Regions from separate parts of the Homo sapiens genome. Here region 2 is linked to region 1. The links are contacts of gene promoters, found by promoter capture Hi-C in human tissues and cell types (Jung and others, 2019). All regions are on one chromosome and are shown on one strand. Each heading gives the region's core, a stretch centred on a gene start or on the middle of the fragment in contact. The rest is flanking DNA. Distances are from core to core; before and after follow the strand shown.

Region 1 (4,390 bases), core at 1,195-3,694:
CCCAAATCGCTTTTCAAGCTGGCGGGGAGAGAGGTGCATATCCGCTCTGTGGAAGCTTAGCTCTTCATCTATGCGAGTGAGACTAGACCCCTGCAAAATGGAAACTCAAACTGCAAAGTAGAGAACGAGGCCAGCATCCACCCGTGGGTCCCTCCTGCTGCCCCGGGACCCCGCCTGGCCACACCTTCCCTCCACTCGGAGCGCCTTTCTGGGTTTTCCGCTGAGGTTTGTTGAAAAGACGCCTCCCAGACTCTTCACTCACGAAGTGTGTTACAAAAACTCTCCCGGCAACTGTCCTGACCCTCACCAATCACGCTACAGCCCCCATTCGATTGCTTGCACAAAGAAAACATTTAACACAGGTGTGATCAACCTCGGTCAAGATGCAGAGTCATCAACCTCGGTCAAGATGCAAAAAGGTGGCCTTTTCTGCGAAGGCCACGCCCTCTGTAAATACAGTTACTACTTGGTGAAAAGCGCTCTACTTCCTAGCTCTTGTTGGTGAGAGGGAGAGCAAAGAACCAGGGCCCGGCATTCTTACGAGAGGAATTCAATGTCACAGGCACTGCCTGTTTGAGGAGAAGATCAGAAACGGTCCGACTCCCAGAACGCAGCACCCAGTTGCTTTGCACGCCAGGCCAGTCCTGGGGAAACGGTGCAACGCTTGTCTGGGCGTCGAGGAGGCTCCCTTGCGGTCCTCCCTGGGCCCTTGCCAGTCCCAAGGAGTTCCAACCCTGCTTTCTAACCCTTTAAAATCTGGAGAGGGCGGCCGCTGGGAGGCGGGACTAGGTGTTGGGGGTCTATAGCCTTAGCATCCAGTACTTTTGTAGTAGGGGCTTTTGTGGAGGTTTTAAAAAATAAGTAAGAAACGTCAAGGCACTGTCTCCCTGTACCTCGTCCCTCTTTTTCTTTTTTGAATGACCGGAGTCCTTCACTTCTTCCTTCACGGTTGCTGGGATTTGGGGTCTGGGAGAGATGGCCTCTGGGCCGTCTGGAGGCACAGCATGCTGTGCTTGCAGGGTCACTGGGGCGAGGGGCTCAGGTAGGAGCCTGACTGTACCTACGATGGGGACGCATCCGCCTTCCAGCCACAGCAATGGCCATCCTTAGTACACAAGTCAGTACTCCACGAAAGAAAATCCACGTGTAACTAAATTCAACATAAACAGTTTCCAGCACATGCCCGTCCCGAGCATCCTGTTAAGAGATACCCCGATCGCGCGCCCCAGAGTGGGAAGTGAGAGAGCCAGGCTGTGCACCAGGGACAGCGCGCGTCTGACGCCGCTGGCCTCCCGAATCGAACCCCAGAGCACCAGAGCCCTTCACTTTGTTAAGAAGTCCCCCACCCAGGCGCCCCCCTCGTCCTCCTCAAGTGCCCTCGGAAAGCGGACCAGACTCACCTACTGCCAGGCAGATGGGCAGCAGCAGCCTGAAGATGAGCCCGCACACCACTTCTGAGGCCATCGCGTCGGTCCGGCGAGTCGGAGCAGAGGGGCGAGGCTCGAGGGTCCCTAGGGGTGGTGGGACGCAAGGCCCATGCCCGTCTATGGCCTCTCGCCGCCGGCAGCTCGCAGCCACCCGAGCATCGCCTCGGCGCGGGCCGCGACGCTCTCCGCCCCGAGGGCACGCTCCCGGGGCTCTTGGCCGCCCCTCGCCCACCGGGCTCTGGGTAGCCCCTCACCAGGCTCTTGGCGGCCACCTAGCCCGGCGCCCGGCCCCCTGCGGCCGGCCCATTTAGTGTGAATCCTGGATCCGGCAGCGGCGGCGGCTTCTTCAGGGGTAGCTGATGCCGGGGCCTTGGAGAGGGACGCTTTGGGAGGGTCCTGGGAGGCGGCGCGGCGAGCAAAGGGGGCAAGAAGGGCGTGCTGTGCTCCCGCCTGGCTCCCGGGGCGTCGTTTGGGGGCGGCCGGGGAGTTTTCTACTTGGAAGCCCCTCTGAAGCCACCGCGTCTCCTTTGCCCGGCCTCGTCTCCGCTGCCCACGCAGGCTGCCGCGCTCTGGCCTCGGCCCCGGCTCTCGGAGCTGCCCGGCGGGCTCCGGGTCTCGCCCTCCAGCCCCCAGGCGGCCCGCGGCGGATCCCCGAGAGGCAGCGCAGCTCAGCCCCTGCGCCCCCCAGCTTCGGGCCGGAGAGACCGGGGTGGGAGCTGCCAGGCGCGCAGAACCATCCCCGCCACCACGGGGCTCGCCTTGTGGGTCCGGTGCGCGGGCGGCGCTGCGAGTCCCTCCCTCACTCGAAGGAACGGCGCGAGCGTGGGGAGAAATGGAGACCAGAGCGCATATCGGGTGAGTGGGTCTCCCACTCCCTCCTCCACCGCCTCAATTTAAAACTCAAGAGAAAAACCAGCGCCGTCCCGTCGCCCAGCGCGACCACCGCCTGCCGCCTTGCAGCCTCGCCCTCGCGGCGCAGCCGGGGCTCCCCGGCGGCGCGCGCTTCTCCACCTTCAATGAAACTTTCGAAGCCCTCACTCGGGGACGGGCGTGTCCCCCGGCCAATGGGATGGCGGCTCCGGGGCCTGCGCGCGCGGAGCCCGCCCCTGAGCGGCTGGGGAAGTGAGAGCCTTGCACCGGCGCGGAGGGCAAGCCCCCACCCGCGGCTCCCGCGCCTGGGAGAGACCCGGCCTGGCCTGCCAGTGGGCTGCGCGCCTTGGCTCGCCCTCCGCGGGCACTCCTGCCCCACTGGCTCCCGCAGCCCCGCGGCTCTGCGTGGTTCTGTCATTCCGGTGGTGCACCCTGGCATCCAGTCCACCCGGCCGGGCCCTGAGCTTGCCCAAACCCAGGGAACCGTTTAAGGTCCGAGGGAAACGCACAGGCCCGGCAGGAGAGAAGCCAGGGGCTTGGAGAGTCCTGTGCGACCCCGACTTCTGCTGGGTCCACAGGTGCACACTGGCATTAAGAAGAATAGAGCTGAATTCATCTACACCGTTGACCCTGCCCATATTTCACATAGCAAGAACTTGCCATTCTGAATAGACTCTGGGAAATCCCGGGTCTTCCCCAACAGATAATGCACCCACTTTGTGCATTTGGGGGAACTCTCCGTTTTCACCTCAGTTTTGCTCCTTGCTTGTCGTGGCTCTGGGGAAAGAGAGCGTTGGCACTGAGAATATTCTCCCTTTCTCCTAGTGCACTGCTTTTTGCCTGTTCTAGGCAAGATCTAGAGAAATCTGGCTCTAGCTGGGAGACTGCAGTGTGCCTGGGTCTTTTATTTAACTGTTATCCGAGAGTGGAGGAGATTTGCTAGAGCACAGTAGGGGTCTTTCCGGACATGGAGGAAGAGGCTGTTAGCATCTGTAGAGAGGACTGTTCAGGACTGGCATTCCATCAGGAGGACACACTGGGAAGGACCTGGCTTCCCTTCCGCACCTACATTCCTGGCTTGCATTAGTTGGAGGGGATAGAGCAGTGAGCTGATGAAAAACAGGCAAACCCCCGTCTTTTTAGCCATTTGAAACGCTTTTGTGGACATCCCTTTTTTGAGACAGGGTAAGCTTGTGGTTTGAGCTCAGGTGCCTTCACGAATTCTCTGAGAATTACAGAAAAACTATGAACCATTGCTTTTTGAATGAAGACTCAAGACAGTTGGCATATGGTGAAGACACCCTGAAACTTAAACCACCCATGTGCTCTGCCATCCTCAAGAAGCTTAGATAGCACCTAAACCCGGGCGTAGTCATGAGCTCAACAGCAGACCTACAGGAGACGATAGAACTTAAATTAGCATCCAGTCACCAAGAAATGCTATCAAGAAATGGTTTGTGTAGCCTGTTTGTAGAAGCCTGATATAAATCTACCACTAATTTTGATGTTCATAAGTCTGCCTTCACATCCATGCCCTCCCCACCTCACCCCATGTACGACTCATTCTTGGGAGCTAATAGGTGAAGGACTCCTGAATTTTAAATAATACTGTGTCATCACATGAATTCTGTATTCTCTGAATACTTTCTTATGTTCTTGATAGGCTTCCCATACTAACAACTGTCTAGACTTTTTCACAATAATTCTCTTTCAAAATAACATAAGCTGGGAGGCACAAGATTCCCAGCAGGTGGGTGGTCTTACCAAATAAACTTCGAGCTTTCTCTGCCACAGTGTGTACCAACTTGGCTGCTGGGGCGTTAGAGATTTTAACAACTACATCCCAGTTCTGAGACTTCCAACGTATGTACTCAAGGGGAAGTTTCAGCGGTCTAGACTACATCTGAAATAGGCTTCTCCATGCTGGCTACATGTTGCAGTCACCTGGGGAGCTTTTGAAAAACGCTCAGTCTCCACACTCCCTGAAATCCTGATTTAATTGGTCTGCGATGGGGCCCCCACACCTGTATTTTTCTTAAAGCTCTCAAGTGATTCTTAAGTATGCAGTCAGGGGTGAAGACCGCTGTCCTCAT
Region 2 (4,390 bases), core at 1,049-3,548, 130 kb before region 1:
ACAGCAATCCGGGGCCCCCTCATTCCTCAGTGGGGAACATGTCACCCTGGGTGGGACAGCGATCCGGGGCCCCCTCATTCCTCAGTGGAGAACATGTCACCCTGGGTAAGACAGCGATCCAAGGCCCCCTCATTCCTCAGTGTGGGGAAGATGTCACCCTGGGTGGGACAGCGATCCGGGGCCCCCCTCATTCCTCAGCGGGGAACATGTCACCCTGGGTGGGACAGCAATCCAGGGCCCCCTCATTCCTCAGTGTGGGGAAGATGTCACCCTGGGCGGGACAGCGATCCATGACCCCCTCATTCCTCAGTGTGGGGAAGATGTCACCCTGGGCGGGACAGCGATCCGGGGCCCCCCTCATTCCTCAGCGGGGAACATGTCACCCTGGGTGAGACAGCGATCCATGACCCCCTCATTCCTCAGTGTGGGGAAGATGTCACCCTGGGCAGGACAGCAATCCGGGGCCCCCCTCATTCCTCAGTGTGGGGAAGATGTCACCCTGGGTGGGACAGCAATCCAGGGCCCCCTCATTCCTCAATGTGGGGCACTTCACCCAGATCCGGGGCCCCCTCACTCCTCAGTATGGGGCATGCCACCCTGGCTGGCTCTTCCTTCTGTCTTCCTTCTCTGTGTGCTTCACCAAACCTCCCTGATTTCATGGAGAGCTCAAAAGAGAATATTCTCTGGCAATAAAGATGGAAGTTAATGGTAATTAACTTACTCACATCTGCAAAGTCCTTTTTGCCCTATAAAATAATATGTTCACAAATTATGGAGATTAAATAAAATATTTAACCTGAAAATTTTAGAATATATCAATAATATCATGTTTTAAGAGAACGCCTTGATAATCAGTGCCAAGGTAAGGTCAAATCTAAAGGGGTGGGCCCCTTTCCTGCTGCATTTGCTGGGCTGGTTGACTGTGAGGGAAGGGACACATTTCTATGTACCCTAAGCTGCAGAACAGGAACGACTCTTGCAGCCCTGGTATTTATACTTAAGATCTGTTTATTTGCATAGTGCTCTATGGTAGACTCGAATTTCTTATGGAAAACAATAAACACGAACACACACAAAAAACCCTTTAAGGCTGACACTTTAAATCAAAACTGTTCACATGCACACATGTTCAACTTCATGTTTTAAATATTATTTTGAAAATGAAAACTTTCTAAACGTTTTTGTAAGGCTTCTTTGTTTCAATCACAATTTGCAAATCAACTGCACGTTAGTGAGAAATAGCTTGGGCAATCCTGGTGACATTCTCCCCTTTTCCTTGTTCTCCCTTTTCACCCTGGCCTCCTTCAGCCTCATTCTTCCTCCTTCTCCATTGCTCCTGTAGACCCAAACCAACAACAGCAGGACCTCTTATTAACCTCTGTTAATACCTCAATTTAGCAAATGTAATGAGTACTGTGGGTAAGAGGGAAGGAAATGAGCCCTTTGACATTCACTCTCTTTGAAACTGTCATCCCACAGGGAAAGAAACAGGCCAAGAGTGGCCAGAGTATGTAAGAGAATGGGATGACTGTGGGCAGAATCACAGGAGAGACACAGAATGTGGCGGTAGAGACGGTCAGAGCGAAAAAACAGGCACAGAGCAAGGACACAAGGCAACATCCAGAGGCAGAAAGGAGGCTGGAGGGCACTGACAACACAGAGGAACCAAAACCCAGACAATTCCCTTCAGGGGCCCCAGAGAGAAAGTGAACCCCTAGGAACCCCCTGCAAAGGGTGGGTATGAGGGGGGTCGGGTTAAGCGGCTTAACAAAGAGGTGTGCCCGAGAAATGCAATTAGTTCATCAAAAGTAAGTAACGAGTTACTCATTTAAACAAGTGATAACTCAAGGTAAAAAGAAAACAAATGCTGGGATTCTGAATACAATCCTAGAAAAGGCAAAACCAAAAATGCACAAAACAGGTACATGGTGTTGAAGAAATCATGTTTCATGATGAAAAACTCCATCAAATAATGTAATGTTTTTTCACTGGAGGCAAATTCCTTCCCAGTTTTCATCCCCATACATGTGGATTTGATATATTTATTTAGATTTTTCTTCTTAATGCTCTTGTTGGAAAAACTCCATCCTTTTGTTATTTCCTTCTCCCCTAATAATTGCTTTCTGCAATTGTTTATTTCATTATTTACTTGGTCCTGCTGATGTTTAAACATGGAGTTGGGAGAGACACTGACAAGCTGAGGGAAGTTCAGAGGAGAGCACAGGATTGAAGGGTCAGGGTTAGAAACAGTCTCAGGTGGAAGAACCAGGTACACCAGCCTGGAGAAAACCCTCATAAGAACGTGGTTCATGCATTCAAACATCTAAAAGAATTTCTAGGGACGAGGGATGAGACTTAACTTTGAGATTTTTCAAAGAACATAACTTGGACACGTTAATGAAGTCACAAAGATGTGTTTTTGACCTCTACGGTCAAAAATGTCTAATTGTCAAATGGATGGGTTGCCCTGGAAGTCCAACTGCTTCTTACATTACTGGAAGTGTTTTAGCAGAAATTAAGTGATATCTTATTAATGGTAATGTAGAAAACTTAAGCATTAAGAAGAGAGTTCTTCAAGACGTAACCTCTAATGTCCCTTACAATTCTGAAAATCCATGGGTTTTTTAATACTCTAAATAACCACAAATGACTTGCACCATAAAACATTTCATTACAATAAACACAATCTTTATGAAAGCATGAATGCCTTTTTTTTTTGAGATGCAGTTTTGCTTTTTTTTTTTTTACTGGGTATGTATAATATAATTTCTAACATAATATGTGCAGGTAATATCTATTTCAATCATTCCAGGGATGGAAATCAAGCTATAAAATTTCATACCCATTTATTTTCTCAGAGTTTATGGGTGTTGTACTGCAGAATGGTTCTTCTGTATAAAAGAAATCGTATGCCAAAAACAGGCATGCTCTTCCCTCTGCCTGGAACATTCTTCCTCAGGGTCTCCGCATTGATAGACTATTTTAATCCTCAGATGGAGACCTCTTCTTTTGAGCTCAGATTCATATCTTGATCTAAGTGCTTAGGCATTGTATTAGTTTCTTACGGCTGCTCTAACAATGTACTACAAACTGAGTGGCTTAAAACAACAGAAATGACTTCTAATCCCAGTGCATTGGGAGGTTAAGGTGGGAGGACAGCTTGAGCTCAGAAGTTCCAGGCCAGCCTGAGCAACACAGTGAGACCCTGTCTCTATTAAGTAATAATAATAATAATAACCAAACAAATAAAAAACAGAAATGTATTGCCTCACTGTTCTGGTGGCTAAAAGTCTGCAATTAAGGTGTCAGCAGGGCCCTGCTCCCCGAGAAGGCTTTAGTGTAGAATTGTTCCCTGCCCCTTCCAGCTTTGGGTAGTGGCCGGTCATCCACAGTGGTCCTTGCTTGCAGCTGCATTACTCCGGTTCCTGCCTCAGTCATCGCATGGTGGTGGTGGTGGTGGTGGTGGTGGTGGTGTGTGTGTGTGTGTGTGTGTGTTCTCTCTTCTTAAGACACAGGCATATTGAATTAATGGCCCACACTACTCCTTTTCTTAACTTGATTGCACCTGCAAAGACCATATTTCCAAATAAGGTCACATTCTGAGATCCTGGGGGTTAGGACTCCCAACATGTCGTGTGTGTGTGTGTGTGTGTGTGTGTGTGTGTGTGTGTGTGTGTGTGTGTGTTGAAATAAAGGAAGAACATGAGCTTGGATCAGACTTAACATATGATTCCTGATCTGTTGGCAGGAAGATTAATCAGAGTTTGACGTAATTGTGGTGTCTCATTTATGGCCAAATTGTGAATCCCGCTGAAGAATCGCCAGCAGCCACTGAACGGTGGGTGACACTACTGTGAACACACATGTATGCCTGGTGGGACAGCTTGCTCCTAATAAAGATATTTCTATTTTGTCTTGTCCATTTAATCTGACATCTATGATTAGGCAGAAGATGCATTATTGAGACAAGGAACAGAAATGATGTCTCCTTCCTTTTGGAACCCCATGAAGAGATCTCATTTTATTTTAAGGATGAGTGGATATGTGAGTCCACTCATACCCACATATCTTTTTGAGGTATACAATTCTACCCATAACAGATATCTCAACCACAACATGTCTAAAATGAATCTCTTAATTCTATCCCAAAACACTTCTTCACCTATTTTTCTCCACTTTAGTAAATGTCACCACAATCCATCACAGGTGTTTCGTGAGTGTGTGTGTGAGATCAACCCCAAAATTCAGGACGGAGCCTTGATTTTTTGTGCCCTTCATAGTCCACATCCAAGCCACCAGCAAACCCTGCTGGTTCTTACCTCCACGATGTAACTTACATCCAATCCAGCCCTTCTCCACTTTCCACTGATGTCTCCATTGACGTAGGTCC

What was found. The method cuts DNA at HindIII sites, captures the fragments that hold promoters and counts their contacts. A contact is called where the count stands out against the background at its distance.
Region 2: a fragment that was not itself captured here is called in contact with the fragment with the promoter of PIEZO2 in region 1 in 4 of the 25 tissues and cell types used here (dorsolateral prefrontal cortex, lymphoblastoid cells, mesendoderm cells and 1 more).

Annotation. Positions count from the first base shown.
Region 1 is chr18:11,147,125-11,151,514 of GRCh38, forward strand. PIEZO2 (piezo type mechanosensitive ion channel component 2) reads right to left here and starts at 2,445. Exons shown (of 56, transcript NM_001378183.1): 1 at 1,401-2,445. The coding sequence starts at 1,464. It overlaps LOC124904249 (a long non-coding RNA gene), which reads right to left and starts at 1,392. Exons shown (of 2, transcript XR_007066288.1): 1 at 1-1,392. RefSeq lists enhancers at 938-987, 1,016-1,854 and silencers at 1,548-1,617, 1,628-1,807, 1,828-2,107, 2,348-2,797. The HindIII fragment of the contact is 6,242 bases long and covers 1-4,390 here.
Region 2 is chr18:11,014,750-11,019,139 of GRCh38, forward strand. All of the region lies in intron 2 of PIEZO2 (piezo type mechanosensitive ion channel component 2), which reads right to left. Among named protein-coding and RNA genes, the nearest start is that of PIEZO2, 130 kb to the right of the region's middle. The HindIII fragment of the contact is 9,138 bases long and covers 1-4,390 here.